5 separate regions of the Homo sapiens genome follow, and regions 1, 2, 4 and 5 are each linked to region 3. Evidence: promoter capture Hi-C in human tissues and cell types (Jung and others, 2019). All regions are on one chromosome and are shown on one strand. The core of a region is centred on a gene start or on the middle of the fragment in contact, and the rest is flanking DNA. Distances in the headings are between cores, read along the strand shown. Region 1 overlaps LINC02331 (long intergenic non-protein coding RNA 2331). Region 2 has its middle 190 kb from the start of CDKN3. Region 3 holds the start of BMP4 (bone morphogenetic protein 4). Region 4 overlaps LOC105370507 (a long non-coding RNA gene). Region 5 overlaps LINC02331 (long intergenic non-protein coding RNA 2331).

The links. Contacts are between HindIII fragments. The study calls those that stand out against the background at their distance.
Region 1: a contact is called between a fragment that was not itself captured here and the fragment with the promoter of BMP4 in region 3, in 1 of the 25 tissues and cell types used here (mesenchymal stem cells).
Region 2: a fragment that was not itself captured here is called in contact with the fragment with the promoter of BMP4 in region 3 in 1 of the 25 tissues and cell types used here (aorta).
Region 4: a contact is called between a fragment that was not itself captured here and the fragment with the promoter of BMP4 in region 3, in 1 of the 25 tissues and cell types used here (H1 embryonic stem cells).
Region 5: a contact is called between a fragment that was not itself captured here and the fragment with the promoter of BMP4 in region 3, in 1 of the 25 tissues and cell types used here (H1 embryonic stem cells).

Annotation. Positions count from the first base shown.
Region 1 is chr14:53,823,263-53,826,808 of GRCh38, reverse strand. The region is part of intron 2 of LINC02331 (long intergenic non-protein coding RNA 2331); the gene reads left to right. Among named protein-coding and RNA genes, the nearest start is that of LINC02331, 26 kb to the left of the region's middle. The HindIII fragment of the contact is 4,607 bases long and covers 1-3,546 here.
Region 2 is chr14:54,203,462-54,207,110 of GRCh38, reverse strand. No RefSeq gene overlaps it. Among named protein-coding and RNA genes, the nearest start is that of CDKN3, 190 kb to the left of the region's middle. The HindIII fragment of the contact is 3,845 bases long and covers 14-3,649 here.
Region 3 is chr14:53,955,220-53,958,582 of GRCh38, reverse strand. BMP4 (bone morphogenetic protein 4) reads left to right here and starts at 1,758. Exons shown (of 4, transcript NM_001202.6): 1 at 1,758-2,033. LOC124903317 reads right to left here. Exons shown (of 2, transcript XM_047432035.1): 1 at 2,255-3,363. The coding sequence starts at 2,682. RefSeq lists silencers at 1,796-1,875, 2,525-2,634 and promoters at 590-1,932, 1-1,932, 2,860-3,363. The HindIII fragment of the contact is 13,246 bases long and covers 1-3,363 here.
Region 4 is chr14:54,153,420-54,156,815 of GRCh38, reverse strand. The region is part of intron 4 of LOC105370507 (a long non-coding RNA gene); the gene reads left to right. Among named protein-coding and RNA genes, the nearest start is that of BMP4, 200 kb to the right of the region's middle. The HindIII fragment of the contact is 3,060 bases long and covers 1-2,895 here.
Region 5 is chr14:53,789,731-53,793,348 of GRCh38, reverse strand. LINC02331 (long intergenic non-protein coding RNA 2331) reads left to right here. Exons shown (of 6, transcript NR_184221.1): 3 at 1-7. Among named protein-coding and RNA genes, the nearest start is that of LINC02331, 59 kb to the left of the region's middle. The HindIII fragment of the contact is 4,401 bases long and covers 1-3,458 here.

The sequences.
Region 1 (3,546 bases), core at 703-3,202, 130 kb after region 3:
TCAGATTCTCTTCTGAAATTTTTAATTTGAGGTTTGGAACTAATTAATCACTGTCTCATGTTGGAACTCTAACAAATAAACCACAGCTGCCAGGGAGTATGGTTTTACAGTGTGGATGGAATAGCAAGGAAAGCCACTGTGAAAAGAGGAAGGAATGAGACCAATTGAGGAAAGAAGCAGAAACAGAGAAACTGTCATGACCTCTTTCCATTCCCAATTCCAGGCTTGGCTACATTCTTATCCTTGGGGTCTGTGAGACGTAGAGTATATTCCTTAAAATTCATTTCTACTTTTGTTTAAGCTGGCTTGAGGGGACTTCTGTTTCTTGTAATCCAAGAGCCTAGGCCAAAACTTCAAATATACAATTTTGAAAGAATTTAAGAAGTATTTGTCAGTTCAAGTACTATCTTAAGGATGAATAAAAGGCATAAAAACTAGGATTCAATTTTATTATACTAATTCATGACAAAGTTTTCCTATTTCTGGACAGTGTATCATCTCTTTGGCAAAAGTTTTAAAATAAAATTTTAAGGGGGTGAATGACGGGTGGTCACTTGGTGGGTACAATGTGCGTCGCTCTAGTGATAGATGCACCGAAGGTCCTGCCTTCACTGCAATGTGATACATTGATGTAGCAAAATTGCACTTGCACACTATGAATATATAGAAATTTAAAAATCAAAATAAAAAATAAAAATTTAGGTAAAATATTAAATATATCAAAAATAAAACTCATTAAAATGCCATCCTGCTTAATAAATAGAGCATTAATAATCTCCTGAAAAATTCCAGGTGCTCCTCTTCAATTTCATCCCTCTCCCTGCCCCAGAGACAGCCACTGGACTGAATTTTTTATCTATTATTTGTTTTCTTTCTTTAAATAGTTTTACCACATCTGTATGTATCTCTAGAAATACAATGTTTAGTTTTCCATACTTTTGAAATTTATGTTGATGGAATAATGCTCTATGCTATGAATCCCTCTTTGCTCAACTTTATACTTAAGAGATTAATTACATTTTTGTGTACAAATCTAATTCATTCATTTTCACTGCTGTATAGATTCCTGTTTTACAGCTGTGGCAGAGATTATCCTTTCTCCCTTCAGTGAGGAGTTAGAAGTGGAATTTCTGTGTTGTAGCAGTGGTCCCCAACCTTTTTGGCCCCAGGGACTGGTTTCATGTAAGACAATTTTTCCATAGACCAGGGGTTGTCGGGGGGATGGTTTTGGGATGATTCAAGCACATTACACTTATTGCGCACTTTATTTCTATTATTATTACATTGTAATGGGTAATGAAGTAATTATACAACTCTCCATAATGTAGAATCAGTGGGAGCCCTGAGCTTGTTTTGCTGCAACTAGATTGTCCCATCTGGGAGCGATGGGAAATAGTGACAGATCATTAGGCATTAGATTCTCATAAGGAGAGCACAACCAAGATCCCTCACATGTGCAGTTCACCATAGTGTTCACGCTTCTATGAGGATCTAATAGAACCACTAATCTGACAGGAGGTACAGCTCACACAGTAATGCAAGCCATGGGGAGTGGCTAAATACAGATGAAGCTTTGCTCGCTTGCTTGCCACTCACATCTTGCTGTGCGGCCCAGTTCCTAACAGGCCACAGACTCGTACCAGTCTGTGGCCCCTGGGGGTTGAGGACCCCTCTGTTGTAGGATATATACATATTTAAATTTCTAGGTAATGCCAAGTTTTTCTCAGAGTGATTGTAGTATAAATGTATAAAAATGCCCTTCGCTTTACATCCTTGCGGATTTTTGGCATGTTTTGACTTTTTAGTTATTTTGCCAATCTAATGTATGCAAAATTAAATCCCACTTTTTTACCTAACAAACATTCATTAAGTGCCTGATAGAGACATATCAGTGAATAAAACAGACAAAATAAACAAAAACAAAACAAAATCTAAAGCCCTTGCCCTCATAGAACTTACATTCTAGTGGAGAATACACACAGCAAATAAAATATATATGAAAGTTATTTAGTATTTTAGTATCTGGTAAGTACTAAAGAGAAAATTAAAACAGAGCGGGACTAGGTAGTGCTGGTGCTGGGGTGGGACTGAACTTCAATAGAGTGGTCAGGTGGGCATTTGAACAAAGACCAGAAGGAGGTGAAGGAAGTCATACCAATAGCACTGTTGTGTTTTGTTTGATGTATCAATCAGAGTCCAGTTGGGGAAGCACAGTCGTGATAACTATTACAAGATAAAGAATTTATCATTGCAATTAGAGCTCACATGAATGTGGGAGGAACCAGGGAGGTGAAAGACTACAAGGGGTTGAGGGGTCAGAGATGGCTAGTCCCTAAGCAGCTTCCCGCAGCACTGGCATGGGGGGCAAGTCAAAGCTTGCAGGGTGATTGATAAATAAAGCACATCCTGCTGAGAAAGTAGGACCATAAAGAGGAAGTTTGTGAAGAGGTGCAGAGGAAGCTCTTGCTTTTGTGCAGAAACTGGCTGGTGGCTCCACAGCCAAACATTTGGTTGAGGGGCCTGGGCCATTGACTACTGGGCCAGTAGTGAAGAAGAGTTGGTCACAGCTCTTGGTTAAACTATAACCTGTGGGGTACTTTTGCATTTCTTCGTCACTAAGACCTTCAGAGGGTTATAACCACTGTTTCACATCCACCTTCCAAATTACTATGTTTTATCAACTCTAACCAAATATGATAGAAGGACAGGGACTCTGGGAAAAAGAGCTCCCAGCTTAACTAAGTTGATACAACGTAATCTAACACATCTAGTTAGTGATAAATGAGGTTGGGCATACTTCTATATATTCAGTGGTCATCATTGTTTTTTCTTCCTCCAAGTGTCTAAGTTCTTTGCTCATTTTTCTACTGGATTGTTTGATTTTTTAAAATAGATTTTTAGGAGTTTTTACAATATTTTGATTACCATTCTTAGTCCATTATATGTGTGGCAAATAAGTTATCCCAATTTGTAGCTGGTAATTTCACTTTCATCATGGCATCCTTTAAAGAACAAAGGTCTTTCTTTTCATATAATTTCACTTAATCTTTTTTTCTTATGGCTTGCACATTTTGTATACTGTTTAAGAAATCCTTCCTTAACCAAAGGCATACATTTATTCTTCTACGATGTCTTCTTAAAGTTTTATAATTTTCCTTGTATAATACTTTCAATAAACTTTTGTAAATAGTGTGAGATGAAAATACAATTTCACTGATCTTTTTCCATATAGAGCTGTAATTGTCCCAGTGCTGTATCTTAAAGAGTTCATCCTCACTGATTTGCCCTGCCTGCTCTTTCATAAAGCAGATTTCTCTATATTATTATGGTTCTATTTCTGGATTCTCTAATCTGTTCCATTGGTCTTTTGTCTCTCTTTTAACTAACATTATATTATTTTTATTATAGCCATATAAAAAGTCTTTCTCTCTGGTAGATGCAGTCTCTTCAGCTTGTGTTTCTTCGGGAGTGTTTTGGCAATTCTTGGTTCTTCATGTTTCTCTATTTTAAAATTGTCTTGATTAACTCAATAAAAAAGTTCTATAG
Region 2 (3,649 bases), core at 687-3,186, 250 kb before region 3:
GCAGTGAGCTGTCTCTGAGTTTGAGGCTGCAGTGAGCTAGCTCTTTAAAAAAAAAAAAAAGTATTCCCAAATGATTCCCAAATGTGGACAGGCATCTCATAAACAAATTTGTTTACGAGTGTGTGAGAAATGAGATTGATAGTTGAGATAGCTGAGAGTGGAGACAGAGTTTTTCTGGCATTTATTTTTCCTTGGATCATTCAATTTCACTCTTATGTGTTCCTTTAAGCCAGGTTGACTATTCAAACCTGTGTGGCTGGAGCCCAATATGAGAGCCCTTCAGGCACCTGATCTTGTATACAATAAGCTCTCTAACTCTCTGACTTTGGGCCAGTCTTTCCTCCTTTCCTTCTTTCACTCTCCTGGCTGCTTTTCCTGTTCTTGGCTTGGAGCCAGCCCCTTGATCTTGGGTTGGACTGGATTCTCCGGGTTGATCCCCACATGCTCTCTTGAATGTGGTTCTGTATTTTCACTCAGTCTCTGCTTCTTGCCCCCCTGGACTCTAATGTCCTGCCTGTTAAGCTTCTGGAACCTAACCCTGCTGTAAGCCTCACCCCCTCCCCAAGCCAATCCCAGGAACTAGAACATTCCTTTGGAGATAACTGTATGTATTTAAAGGAACCTCCACCCCCTTTTAAAACTCATGTATACATATATATAGAACCTTGCTCTAGACCATGTCATAATTAGTGCCTCCATACTCCACTTTTCAGAATGAACATTCTATTATGGCGAAAGGAACCATTTCCCATTTACTTCAACCCTTTACTGACTGCCCCAAAGTGCTATATTTATTTATTTATTTTTGAGATTTAAGAGGGTAAAAGTTTCCCTGGTTTTTTTTTTTTTTTGAGACAGAATCTTGCTCTGTCACCCAGGTTGGAGTGCAGCGGCATCATTATTAGCTCACTGTTAACCTCCACCTCCTGGGTTCAAGTGACCCTCCCTCCTCCCGAGTAGCTGGGATTACAGGCACACACCACCATGCCCAGGTAATTTTGTATTCTTAGTAGAGATGTGGTTTCACCATGTTGGCCAGGCTGGTCTTGAAATCCTGACCTCAAGTAATCCGCCCGTCTCAGATTCCCAGTTGGGGGAAGTCAGGTCTGGCCAGTTCCCCTAATTCTGCCACTGATTTTTTTGTCATCTCAGATCATCTTGAAGTCTCATCTTGATGGCTTCACATTGCTTCCTCTTTGCTCTGATCATTAGATTCTTGCCTGGGTAAAAATAGCCCTCTGTGTTACAGGTTTAGGCATATGGGTTTGGATCTCCCAGTTTCTCTTTTGGTCCATGAAGGCCAAGTAAGAGAGCTGGTGTGCTCCTTACCATGACCTTGGGTCTTTGACCACACACACACACACACACACACACACACACACGCACCCTACTTTACCTGGGTTAGAACCAACAATGACAGCAGATTTGGGAACACAGTCACTCAGGATATTGTTTCAGCACGGATTCCACGTGAATCTGGGGAGGCTTCATTCTGCCACTTTTATAGTCCCAGGTCAATTGTCCTAAATTTCTACTACTTCAAATCCTCTATGATTGAATCTTAGTAATTCCTGCCTATTTAGTTTATCTGATTTAAAATGTTAAGTACAGTTTCAGGTGATGGTTTCTATCACCAGAATTATTTGAAGGCTGATCTGGTTAATAGACTCTTGTCCTCCCAACAAGTTATCCTCATCTGTTTCCCTGGTTACTTACGATCCTGCCTTGGATAGACTCAAAGCAAAATGACTCTAAGAGGGCAATTGCATACTCTGTCTAAACTACTGACCTATTCCTTTGCAGGAACTTCCATTAAAATACAGTCATATGCCACAAAATGACGTTTCTGTCAATGACAGACCGCGCCTATGATGGCGGTCCCAAAGATCAGAATCAAGCTGAAAAATTCCTATTGCATAGTGATATCCTGACAATCCTGGCCTTGTATAGGCCTAACCTAATGTATGTGTTTGTGTCTTAGTTTTTAACAAGCAAATTTTAAAAGTAATAAAAAAAATTTAATAGAAAAAAGCTTACAGAATAGGGATATAAAGAAAGAAATTATTTTTATACAACTTTATAATGTTTTAAGCTAAGTGTTACTACAAGAGTCAAAAAGTTAAATTTAAAAGTTTATAAATTAAAAAAGTTACAGTGAGCTAGTTTATTATCGAAAAGAGAAAAATTTTGTTTGTTTGTTTGTTTGTTTATTTTTATTTTTATTGTTCATTCTTGGGTGTTTCTCGCAGAGGGGGATTTGGCAGGGTCATAGGACAATAGTGGAGGGAAGGTCAGCAGATAAACAAGTGAACAAAGGTCTCTGGTTTTCCTAGGCAGAGGACCCTGCGGCCTTCCGCAGTGTTTGTGTCCCTGGGTACTTGAGATTAGGGAGTGGTGATGACTCTTAAGGAGCATGCTGCCTTCAAGTATCTGTTTAACAAAGCACATCTTGCACCACCCTTAATCCATTTAACCCTGAGTGGACACAGCACATGTTTCAGAGAGCACAGGGTTGGGGGCAAGGTCACCGATCAACAGGATAATAATTTTTCTTAGTACAGAGCAAAACGAAAAGTCTCCCATGTCTACCTCTCTCCGCACAGACATGGCAACCATCCGATTTCTCAATCCTTTCCCCACCTTTCCCCCCTTTCTACTCCACAAAACCGCCATTGTCATCATGGCCCGTTCTCAGTGAGCTGCTGGGCACACCTCCCAGACGGGGTGGTGGCCGGGCAGAGGGGCTCCTCACTTCCCAGTAGGGGCGACCGGGCAGAGGCGCCCCTCACCTCCCGGGCAGGGCGGCTGGCCGGGCGGGGGGCTGACCCCCCCACCTCCCTCCCGGACGGGGCGGCTGGTCAGGCAGAGGGGCTCCTCACTTCCCAGTAGGGGCGGTCGGGCAGAGGCGCCCCTCACCTCCCGGACGGGGCGGCTGGCCGGGCGGGGGGCTGAACCCCCCACCTCCCTCCCGGACGGGGCGGCTGGCCGGGCAGAGGGGCTCCTCACTTCCCAGTAGGGGCGGCCGGGCAGAGGCGCCCCTCACCTCCCGGACGGGGCGGCTGGCCGGGTGGGGGGCTGACCCCCCCACCTCCCTCCCGGATGGGGCGGCTGGCCGGGCGGGGGGCTGATCCCCCCTCCTCCCTCCCGGACGGGGCGGCTGGCCGGGCGGGGGGCTGACCCCCCCCACCTCCTTCCCGGACGGGGCGGCTGGCTGGGCAGAGGGGCTCCTCACTTCCCAGTAGGGGCGGCCGGGCAGAGGCGCCCCTCACCTCCCGGATGGGGCGGCTGGCCGGGCGGGGGGCTGACCCCCCCACCTCCCTCCCGGACGGGGTGGCTGGCCGGGCGGGGGGCTGACCCCCCCACCTCCCTCCCAGACGGGGCGGCTGGCCGGGAGAGGGGCTCCTCACTTCCCAGTAGGGGTGGCCGGGCAGAGGCGCCCCTCACCTCCCGGATGGGGCAGCTGGCCGGGCGGGGGTGCTGACCCCCCCACCTCCCTCCTGGATGGGGCGGCTGGCCGGGCAGGGGGCTGACCCCCCCACCTCCCTCCCGGACGGGGTGGCTGGCCGGGCGGGGGGCTGACCCCCCCACCTCCCTCCCGGACGGGGTGGCTGGCCGGGCGGGGGGCTGACCCCCCCACCTCCCTCCCGGA
Region 3 (3,363 bases), core at 509-3,008:
TTCTTAGAGAAAGTGAACTCAGGAGTGACTTAAAATGAAGGAAGACGGACTTTGGCTAAAATTACAATTAAATAATCAAATCATTTTCAAATATAAAGGGAGCATGCAGATGATCTGGCCCAATCCTTTCATTCTGCAGATGAGAAAACTGAGACTCATAGGAATGAAAAGACTTGCCCAAAGCCATACAGCTTGTTTCTGTTGTTTGGTGCATTAGGCCAAAAGACCTAGGCCTAATAGATGGAAAAGATGGCAGGATGTCTTGGCCTTGCTCTGACAGTTGCTTCTCTGATCTCAGATATTTCCCACCCTTTGTAATCTGTGTTCCACACAGGAAGTAGTTCTTGTTTTTTAAATATCGAAGGTGTATAAACGTAAAGTTTTTATAGATGAGCCACCCAGGGCCAATATCTGTTTAAGTAAAGACCTAAATGCTTTGCAGAGACAGTAAAGTGTCATGTCTGTCCCAGGGAAAGAAATCCAGGACAGGAAATGCTCAGTCTTCCAGCACTCCTCTGGCTACCTGGAGCTCAGGCTATGAGCCTCAACCCCTCCCTGAAGCATTAGCTCTGGAGCAGAGGCTGTGATTTACTTCAGAGATCTGGGCAAGTCCCTTTAACCTGGTAGTCCTGCCTTTCCTTGTTTGTAAAACAGAGAGATGAGGCTGATAGCTCCCTCACAGCTCCATCAGAGGCAGTGTGTGAAATTAGTTCCTGTTTGGGAAGGTTTAAAAGCCACCACATTCCACCTCCCTGCTAATATGATTACTAAAATGTTTTTATATGAAAGGGCCAATTCCTCATCTCCCCTCTTCCTTTAAAAACAGACCAAGGGGCATCTTTTCTTGTCTCCCTGTGGCCTAAAAGGTTACTGCTTCTGTGGTTATCTCCTTGGAAAGACAGAGTGTCAGGACTCTTAGGTACACCAAAAATGAACAAAAAAATCAACAACAACCATAACACCAACAAAAATAACTGCTGTGTCGGTTCTTAAGACGGCTTCTGAGCTAGAAACAGATTTTTCTAACTGTAAAAAACGTGGCCCCAGCCTGTCTGCAGGCCACCTCTGTCTTTAGGCCTTGGGGGGAGGAGGGAAGTGAGCTCATTTACTGGGGTCTACCTCAGGGTCATCACCAAGGTGTTCTACAAAACGCACTTTAAGAATGTTTTGGAAGGAAATTCACCTTTTAACAGCCCAAGAGGTATCTCTCTCTGGCACACAGTTCTGCACACAGCCTGTTTCTCAACGTTTGGAAATCTTTTAACAGTTTATGGAAGGCCACCTTTTAAACCGATCCAACAGCTCCTTTCTCCATAACCTGATTTTAGAGGTGTTTCATTATCTCTAATTACTCAGGGTAAATGGTGATTACTCAGTGTTTTAATCATCAGTTTGGGCAGCAGTTACACTAAACTCAGGGAAGCCCAGACTCCCATGGGTATTTTTGGAAGGTACGGCGACTAGTCGGTGCATGCTTTCTAGTACCTCCGCACGTGGTCCCCAGGTGAGCCCCAGCCGCTTCCCAGAGCTGGAGGCAGCGGCGTCCCAGCTCCGACGGCAGCTGCGGACTCGGGCGCTGCCTGGGCTTCCGGGACCCGGGCCTGCTAGGCGAGGTCGGGCGGCTGGAGGGGAGGATGTGGGCGGGGCTCCCATCCCCAGAAAGGGAGGCGAGCGAGGGAGGAGGGAAGGAGGGAGGGGCCGCCGGGGAAGAGGAGGAGGAAGGAAAGAAAGAAAGCGAGGGAGGGAAAGAGGAGGAAGGAAGATGCGAGAAGGCAGAGGAGGAGGGAGGGAGGGAAGGAGCGCGGAGCCCGGCCCGGAAGCTAGGTGAGTGTGGCATCCGAGCTGAGGGACGCGAGCCTGAGACGCCGCTGCTGCTCCGGCTGAGTATCTAGCTTGTCTCCCCGATGGGATTCCCGTCCAAGCTATCTCGAGCCTGCAGCGCCACAGTCCCCGGCCCTCGCCCAGGTTCACTGCAACCGTTCAGAGGTCCCCAGGAGCTGCTGCTGGCGAGCCCGCTACTGCAGGGACCTATGGTGAGCAAGGCTACCTGGTGAGGGGAGACAGGCAGAGGGGGTCTAGGAGCCTCCTTGGGGGGAAGAAGCTGGTCACAGGCTGTGACCGAGGCAAAAGGTGGCCTAATTATTTTCCAATAGTGGTGCTGGAGGTGGGGATGCTGGCGCTGAAAGACCTTTAAATATCGGCTACTGCCCCTGCCCAGGCCTTCTCTGTCCAGCAGTCCCTGGGAGATTCTCACCTTTGGGAAGTGCGGGGCAGGAGAGCAGAAACAAGAGAAGCCCTTGGTAGGGGGGTCGTTGGGAAAAACTGTGGGGTCTTGGGCTGAACGCGTTGCCCACGGGCTGGAGGTTGCGATCCCCGGACGGAAAGCGCGGGAGGAGGAAGGAGAGAACCGGCTCTGAGGTCCAGAGAGAGTGAGGGGGCAGAGCGACGGCGAGATGGGGAGAGAACACCTAGCTGGAGCAGGTTCTGCGGTAGAGAGCGCAGTCCTGCTGGCCTCTGGAGAGTGCGCGCCGCTCCGGAGGCTGCGTCGAGGGGAGTGTCACCCAATCTGGCCCCCAGCTGGCGGGGCGCCCTGAGAGCTTGCGAACTGCAGTTGCAGGACGCGCCTTCTCCACGAGCTATTTTCGTCGACTTGCGGAACCCAAGGAACCTCGCCTCTATCATTTCACGGTGTAGGGTCCCTAGAGACGACAGCCAAGATCCCAGGGGCTCCCAGGACGCTTGTTCCTGCGGTGTCGTGTCCTATGGGGAGTTCCTGGCGGGACGAAAGGCGGACGCGCGGCTCTTCCTGGCCCTCCAGGCCCGGAACCGACGGGAAAGGTTCCCGTGATTCCCGAGTCCCTGCAGGCTTCTTCCAGCGGGAGTTGGTCCGGGGGCCTTAGAGGCCTCCAAGCACTGCTTTGGAGGATGGTTTCCAAGGATCGCGGTTTGTGAGTTGAAGGCTTTGTGAGAGGTTAAACCCCCAAAAGATACATACTTGGTAAACTGAGGCTACCTGTAAACACATTTCGGCATTAGGAGAAGATTCGAGTAGGGAAGTGAAGGACAACCACCCCGAGTTACATTCCTTTCCCCCAATAAAAAGCTCTGGGGATGAAAGTTCTTTTGGCTTTTATCTTTTCGATTTAAAAATTTGAGAAGAAAAATGTGACTAGAGATGAATCCTGGTGAATCCGAAATTGAAACACAACTCCCCCTTCCCCTTCCTATCCTCTCGGTTTTAGAACCGCGCTCTCCCGCCCCAGGAGATTCCTTGGGGCCGAGGGTTTTCCGGGGAACCCGGGCGCCCGCCCCTTCTACTGTCCCTTTGCCCCGCGGGCACAGCTTGCCTCCGTCTGCTTTCTC
Region 4 (3,396 bases), core at 116-2,615, 200 kb before region 3:
TTGGGGCTACTGTGCATAATTTCAGAGGTCAAGGTAAGAAAGCTCGAGAGATCAGATTTAGATGTCACTGATGAAAGACAGCTGATTTGGGGTGATAGAAACAAGTGCTTCTATTAAACATGCAACCACAGAGAGTTTGATTTTCTGTCTGTCCTTTCTAGCCATTAAGAGCTATGTCTTAACGGAGTTAGCATTTTTACAGCATTTAAAAAATTTATTTTGAAACTTACATCTATATGCATAAATACAATTTAAAATATGTATATAAATGTGAGCATTACTTCTGCCCTGTAACAGTAATAACCTGGCTTATAATTTACCATATTTTTTCTGTATGCTTGTTCAGTCAAATGAAAATATACATACATTACTTGGAACAGAATAGAGAGGTGAGAAATAAGTCTGCATACCTACAACCATCTGATCTTCGACAAAGCTGACAAAACCAAGCAATAGGGAAAGGACTCCCTATTTGATAAATGGTGTTGGGATAACTGGCTAGCCATATGCAGAAGATTGAAATCGGACTCCTTTCTTATGTATACAAAAATCAACTCAAGGTGGATTAAAGACTTAAATGTAAAACCCAAAACTATAAAAACCCTGGAAGACAACATAGGCAATACCTTTCTGGATAGAGGAATGGACAAGATTTCATGACAAAGACATCAAAAGCAATTGAAACAAAAGCAAAAATTGACAAATCAGATGTAATTAAGCTTAAGAGCTTCTACACAGCAAAAGAAACTATTAACAGAGTAAACAGACAACCTACAGAATGGGAGAAAACATTTGCAAACTATGCCTCTGACAAAGGCCTAATATCTAGCATCTATAAGGAACATAAACTTACAAGAAAAAAAAATACATTAAAAAGTGGGTAAGTGAGGCCGGATGCAGCGGCTCACACTTGTAATCCCAGCACTTTGGGAGGCTGAGGCAAGTGGATCACTTGAGCTCAGAAGTTTGAGATCAGCCTGGGCAACATGGCGATACCCTGTCTCTACTCAGAATTTGAAAAAAAAAAAAATGGCGTGATGGTGTGCGCCTGTAGTCTCAGCTACCTGGGAGGTTGAGGTAGGAGGATCAGTTGAACCCAGGGACAGAGGCTTCAGTGAGCTGAGATTGTGCCATTGCACTCCAGCCTAGGTGACAGAGCAACACCCTGTCTCAAAAAAAAAAAAAAAAAGGTGGGAGCAAATAACATGAACAGACAGCTTTCGAAAGAAGACATACATGCAGCCAACAGGCATATGAAAAAAAGCTCAACATCATTGATCATTAGAGAAATGCAAATCAAAACCGCAATGAGGTACTATCTCACATCAGTCAGAATAGCTATTACTAAAAAGTCAAAAATAACAGATGGCAAGGTAGTGGAGAAAAGGGAATGCTTATACACTGTTGGTGGGAGTGTAAATTAGTTTACCCGTTGTGGAAGACTGTGGTGATTTCTCAAAGACCTAAAGACAGAACTATTATTCAACTCAGCAGTCTCATTACTGAGTATATACCTAAAGGAATATAAATTATTCTACTATAAAGACACATGCACGTGAATGTTCATTGTGCACTATTTACAGTAGCAAAGACGTGGAATCAACCTAAATGCCCATCAGTGGTAGACTAGATAAAGAAAATGTGCAGCCGGGTGCGGTGATTCACGCCTGTAATCCCAGCACTTTGAGAAGCTGGGGTGGGTGGATCACCTGAGATCAGGAGTTCAAAACTAACCTGGCCAATGTGGTGAAACCCCATCGCTGATAAAAACACAAAAATTAGTAGGGTGTGGTGGTGGGCGTCTGTAATCCCAGCTACTTGGGTGGCTGAGGCAGGAGAATCACTTGAACCTGGGAGGTGGAGGTTGCAGTGAGCCAAGATCACACCACTGCACTCCAGCCTGGGTGACAGAATGAGACTCCATCTCAAGAAAAAAAAAAAAAAAAGAAAAAATGTGTACATATATACTATGGAATACTATGCAACCATAAAAAAGGATGAGAACATGTCCTTTATGGGCACACAGATGGAGCTGGAAGCCATTATCCTTGGCAAACTAACGCAGGAACCAGAAAACCGAATGCTGCATGTTCTCACTTATAAGTGGGAGCTAAATGATGAGAACTCATGGACAAAAAAGGGAACAACAGACACTGGGGCCCACTTGAGGGTGGCGGGTGAGAGAAGGGAGAGAATCAGCAAAAAAATAACTAATGGATACTAGGCTTAGTAAGTTGGTGACGAAATAATCTGTACAACAAACCCCCATGACACAAGATTACCTATATAATAAACCTGCACATGCACCCCGGAGCCTAAAAGTTTTTTAAGAAATAAAATATACATACATTACAAAGATATACCACACACACACACACACACACACACACACACACACACACACACACACGCACATACATATATATATTCTTGAATGCTTTTTAGCCATTTTAAAATAAAACTAGGAATACATTTGATATGGTTTGGCTCTGTGTCCCCACCCAAATCTCACCTCGAATTGTAATCGGAATTGTAATCCCCAGATGTCGAGAAAGGGACCTGGTGGGAGGTGATTGGATCATGGGGATGGTTTCCCCCTTGTTGTTCTTGTAATAGTGAGGGAGTTCTCATGAGATCTGGTTGTTTGATAAGTGTCTGGCAGTTTCCCCTGTGCTCTCTCTCTCTCCTGTCACCATGTAAAACATGTCTTGCTCCCCCTTTGCCTTCTGCCATGATTGTAAGTTTCCTGAGACCTCCTGGCCATGCAGAACTGTGAGTCAATTAAATCTCTTTTCTTCATAAATTACCCAGTCTCAGGTAGTATCTTTATAGCAGTGTGAAAATTGACTAATACAATAATATATCCAGTTTTCTGTGTCTTGCTTCTCTCAGAATACCTTATAGAAATTCTACCAAGTCACATGGTACATTTAATTGGTGATATCCATAAGAATTATGAATTTATTTAATCCTTACTGATGAGAATTCATTTGGTTGGCTTGGTTCTTTTTATCCACTGTAAAAAATACTACAATGATCATCTTCATGTATTCATTTCATGTTGGTGGTTTTGATAGATTCCAAGGAATAGAATTACTGAGCCAAATTAACATGTCTTTTTAGTTTGAATAGATTTTGCCAGACTGCAAAAGGTCTCAACATTTCTACCAGCAAAGTATGGGCACATTCTTTTCTCCATTAACCTTAAGTATGATATGTTACCCCTCTTTTAAAGTTCTTCTATTCTAAGAGGTATAAATAATGCTTTATTGCTACTTTAGCTACAATGTGACAATTTTCTTTTTTTGTTTTTGATATAACTCCATGGCTTTTTTCATCAGCCAGTTGAAATCTTTAATTAAAAAATTAAAGGACTACATTCACATATTTCGAAAG
Region 5 (3,618 bases), core at 9-2,508, 160 kb after region 3:
ACAACATGTAAGTGGCTGAGCCAAGACTGAAATCACCAGGTTCTTAACCACTAGGCCATATTGCATTGGAGTGTTGCCTCCTGGAGTAAGACTAGGTAAGAAAATATGAAAAACATATGGCCCCTGAATCAAGCACTTCACATTGTAGTAGAAAAGACAGACCTGCAGAAACACCATAAGAATATAGGCTGATTGAGTGTAGTGATGGAACTTTGTGGAAAGGCCATAAACACAGCAAAAGGGCTGCCCCCAGGTGGCAGTGATCACTGGGACAGGGCTTAGGTGGAGTGTGGATTTTCTTTGTTTGACAGGGGTTGTCTCAATATCAAAAATGGCTCTTTTAGTAGGGAGGATAAGATTTTAGAGACCATCTTCCAGTTCACCTCCTTTATTGCAAAAGAGGAAGCTGAAATAAAGAAATTTAGGAGATTCGCTCAACACACAACTGATTAATTGCACATTCAAGACAGAACAGAAAAAGTTGTCTAAATCCTGTAGCAAACCTGAATTTTCCTGAAGATTCATTTGGAAGAAGAAACAGCCAGGAAAAAAAAAAAGAAAGAAAGAAAGTAAAAGAGATGGTAAGAAATGATAATGCCCTTAGAAGGCCATTATAAAATATAGAAAAATCAGTGAAGAAACAAAAACATCTAGAGTCACAAATGTCATATTGGCATCTCCTACTTTAGAAAAAGGTACAAAAAATAAGACTTTCCCCTTCTTCCCCATGTTCCTCCTCAGGTCCCCCCACCCATCCCCTATCCCTGTTTTCTACAGAAGCTTACATAGAGAACTATGAGACTATTGGGCATGGTGGTCTGTGCTCTGCACCCTAAACATGGTTTCACTGATTGCTAGTTTTCCATAAGAATACAAAACCAATTGTTTATTGTACTGTCACAAGTTTGCCTCCCTCAGGCTTTCACTATTTCAGCTAAAACAGATGCTATTTAGAAATATAGAATATTGTAAAAGCCACTTAATTCTCTAATGATTTCAATTATAAAAGGTAAAAATTTTTTACCTCCCCATGCTTCAGGTTAATTTTGTCCTCACCTTATGTTTTTGTTATTCTCTCTGCCTCGATTCTCCCCTCATTTCCATCCATTTAATTCTTTGCTCCTCTTCCTGGAATTCATATAGTAGGAATTCCACCTCTCCCATGTGCATTTGAGCCAAAGTTCCCAAAGCAAGTTCTATGGAACATGATTACCTGAAGAGCTTCCTGAAAGCTGGGTTCCATGGTCAAAGAAGCTTGAGAAAACCTCACATTATCTCTTGTCTGATGACCAGAATTTATTATTTGTACCTTAAAGTTTAGCAGTCAATTATTGTATATGTAAGAAATGATTAAATATCTATCATGGACCAAGCATACACAGGGCTGAATATGGGAGTTATAATTGTTCCCTCACCCTAAGTAAGTCTTGTCTGTTTACCCAGATTTTGTAGTTCTGGAAAGTAAGGACTGGTCCTATTGTATTGTTATACTGTTATAGAGTTACAGTATAATGGCAATAAGAGAGGCTCAATAAATGATTTCCGGTTGGCTTGTTGGTTAACTAAATGTGAGTTAGCTTTTACCAATAAAAATTGCTTTTATCTTCTCCTTGAAAACTACTCTGCAAGAGAAAGTGCCTTTGATCCTACTTAGTAGGATAGTTTTTCTAACAACAAAACTCTCTACAGAAAGTCTGAAATGCATCTGCATAATGTGACTGACTCAAATAGCAATGTCCAACATCAGAAAAATACCAATTTTCCAATTTTGGAATGCCTACCAGGATACATAGAAGACCACAGGGAAAAAAACACCACAATTATCCCCATTTTATTCTCCACTACAGAAATCCAGCCTCTGTTGCTGGATTTGATGTCTAGCCACAATCACATGTGACTAAGTTGAGTTCATGAACTGAATTTGGGCTGATCCCATTAAATTCTTAAATAGAGAAAAATATTTGTTCTCACCTGACCAGCTTTGACTAAAAGGCATCTTGTGGTGAGGACAATGCAAAATGAAGCATGCCATTCTCCTGTCACACGATATCTGCCTCGAAATCAGATTGCCACCCAGTGATTAATACCGTCTGTCTAACACATTCCTTGTTTGGGGGCTGGGTGTCAGGAAAGAAGGATTTATTATATCATAAGATGTCCATGAACAAACTCCAGGGACAGATGTGGTAAAAACAGGACTTAAAGCATTTGGTGAGAATATCCCAGTTATTCTTTAAGGGACTTGTCAAACATTAAATTAAGTGAAGCAGAAGGGTTTTATGATTTTTCTCCCCTCCTTAAGTGGACTGTCAGAGTTATGTTACTAGAGTTAATGCTACCAAATTTGAATGCTTGAGTGCAGCCCTGTCTTGAAGTATTTGTCAGGGAAAAAAAAAGACTGTTTGAGGCTTGGCAGACACTTCCCATATGAGTTATGAGAGAATAAACTATTTCCAAGTTGTACTACTGAAAGCTGAAAGGACCTATGGAAGACCTTCCAAACTGTTATTATAAATAGGAATTCAAACCATGGAAGAATTCATGCAAAATCTTGATTCAGAGCATACTTGAACTTAGCATTTCCCTTACCATGGCCTTTCTGAGTGTGTTACTTAACACTGCATAAATGGTTCTCAACTATCTGAGGATGGTGTTTGATGTCCCTGTTGCTGTTGAGTGCAGAATTAAAAACAACAAAAAACGGCTCCAAATTTCAAGTATGCACTATGCAGGTGAGCTGGGAGGCAGGACTTTCTGCCAGTGGAGTCATTTAACTCTAGAATGTGCTGGTAAGAGTGGATTTGATGGAGGGTGTGAGTTGTCAGCTCAGAGAAACTTAAGCTGGAATGTAGCTTGTTACCATTTGTTACTGCTCTGCCTCACCTGAAATGCTGTTTTCTCTCCAGCCATACCAGATCCTCTGTCAATTAGAATTCTGGTCCTTGATGAAACCTTGTTAGATTGCAGGCCCTAAAGGCAGAGGAAAGGCAGCAATGATGGGGGACGAGTGTTTGCACTGTGTTGGTCTCTCCCCATCACCTTGATACATCTATTGAGAACAGATAGTCAGTTCCACAGCACAGCATAAAGTTTCCCCCAGAGTGTGGTCCTTGAGCTACCTGCATCAGCATCATCAAACAAGCCTTTAAAATGCATATTCTCAGGCCCTGTGCTAAATATTCAGTATTAGACTCTCTGGGAGTGAGGCCTGGGAATATGCATTTTAAGATTCCCCAAGGGACTTTGGTGTACCCTGCATTTCTACTTGAGATTTGGGTTACCTCTTTTATTTGTAGTTGCAATTGTTTAGACCAGATGCTTCCTGAAGAAGAGGCTACAGGAGAGGGAGGAGACGGGGTAGGGGAAGAGACAGAGACTGGACCCTTTGAAAGGGTGATGTTGGGGTCAAATGGACTTCGAGAGCAGCTGTAGGGCAGGGATTCTACACTGGTGACCTGCACATATATTTTCTTTGAATTACACAGCATTTACAATTTTTAAAAATCAAAATGCCTTTATACTGGGCATATCCTCTTCTGTCTTCCACAACTCATCACTGCCTACTCATTCATCCCCTTGCCATTGAAGGCACTTGATTACCAACTCCTGGGGAAGGTG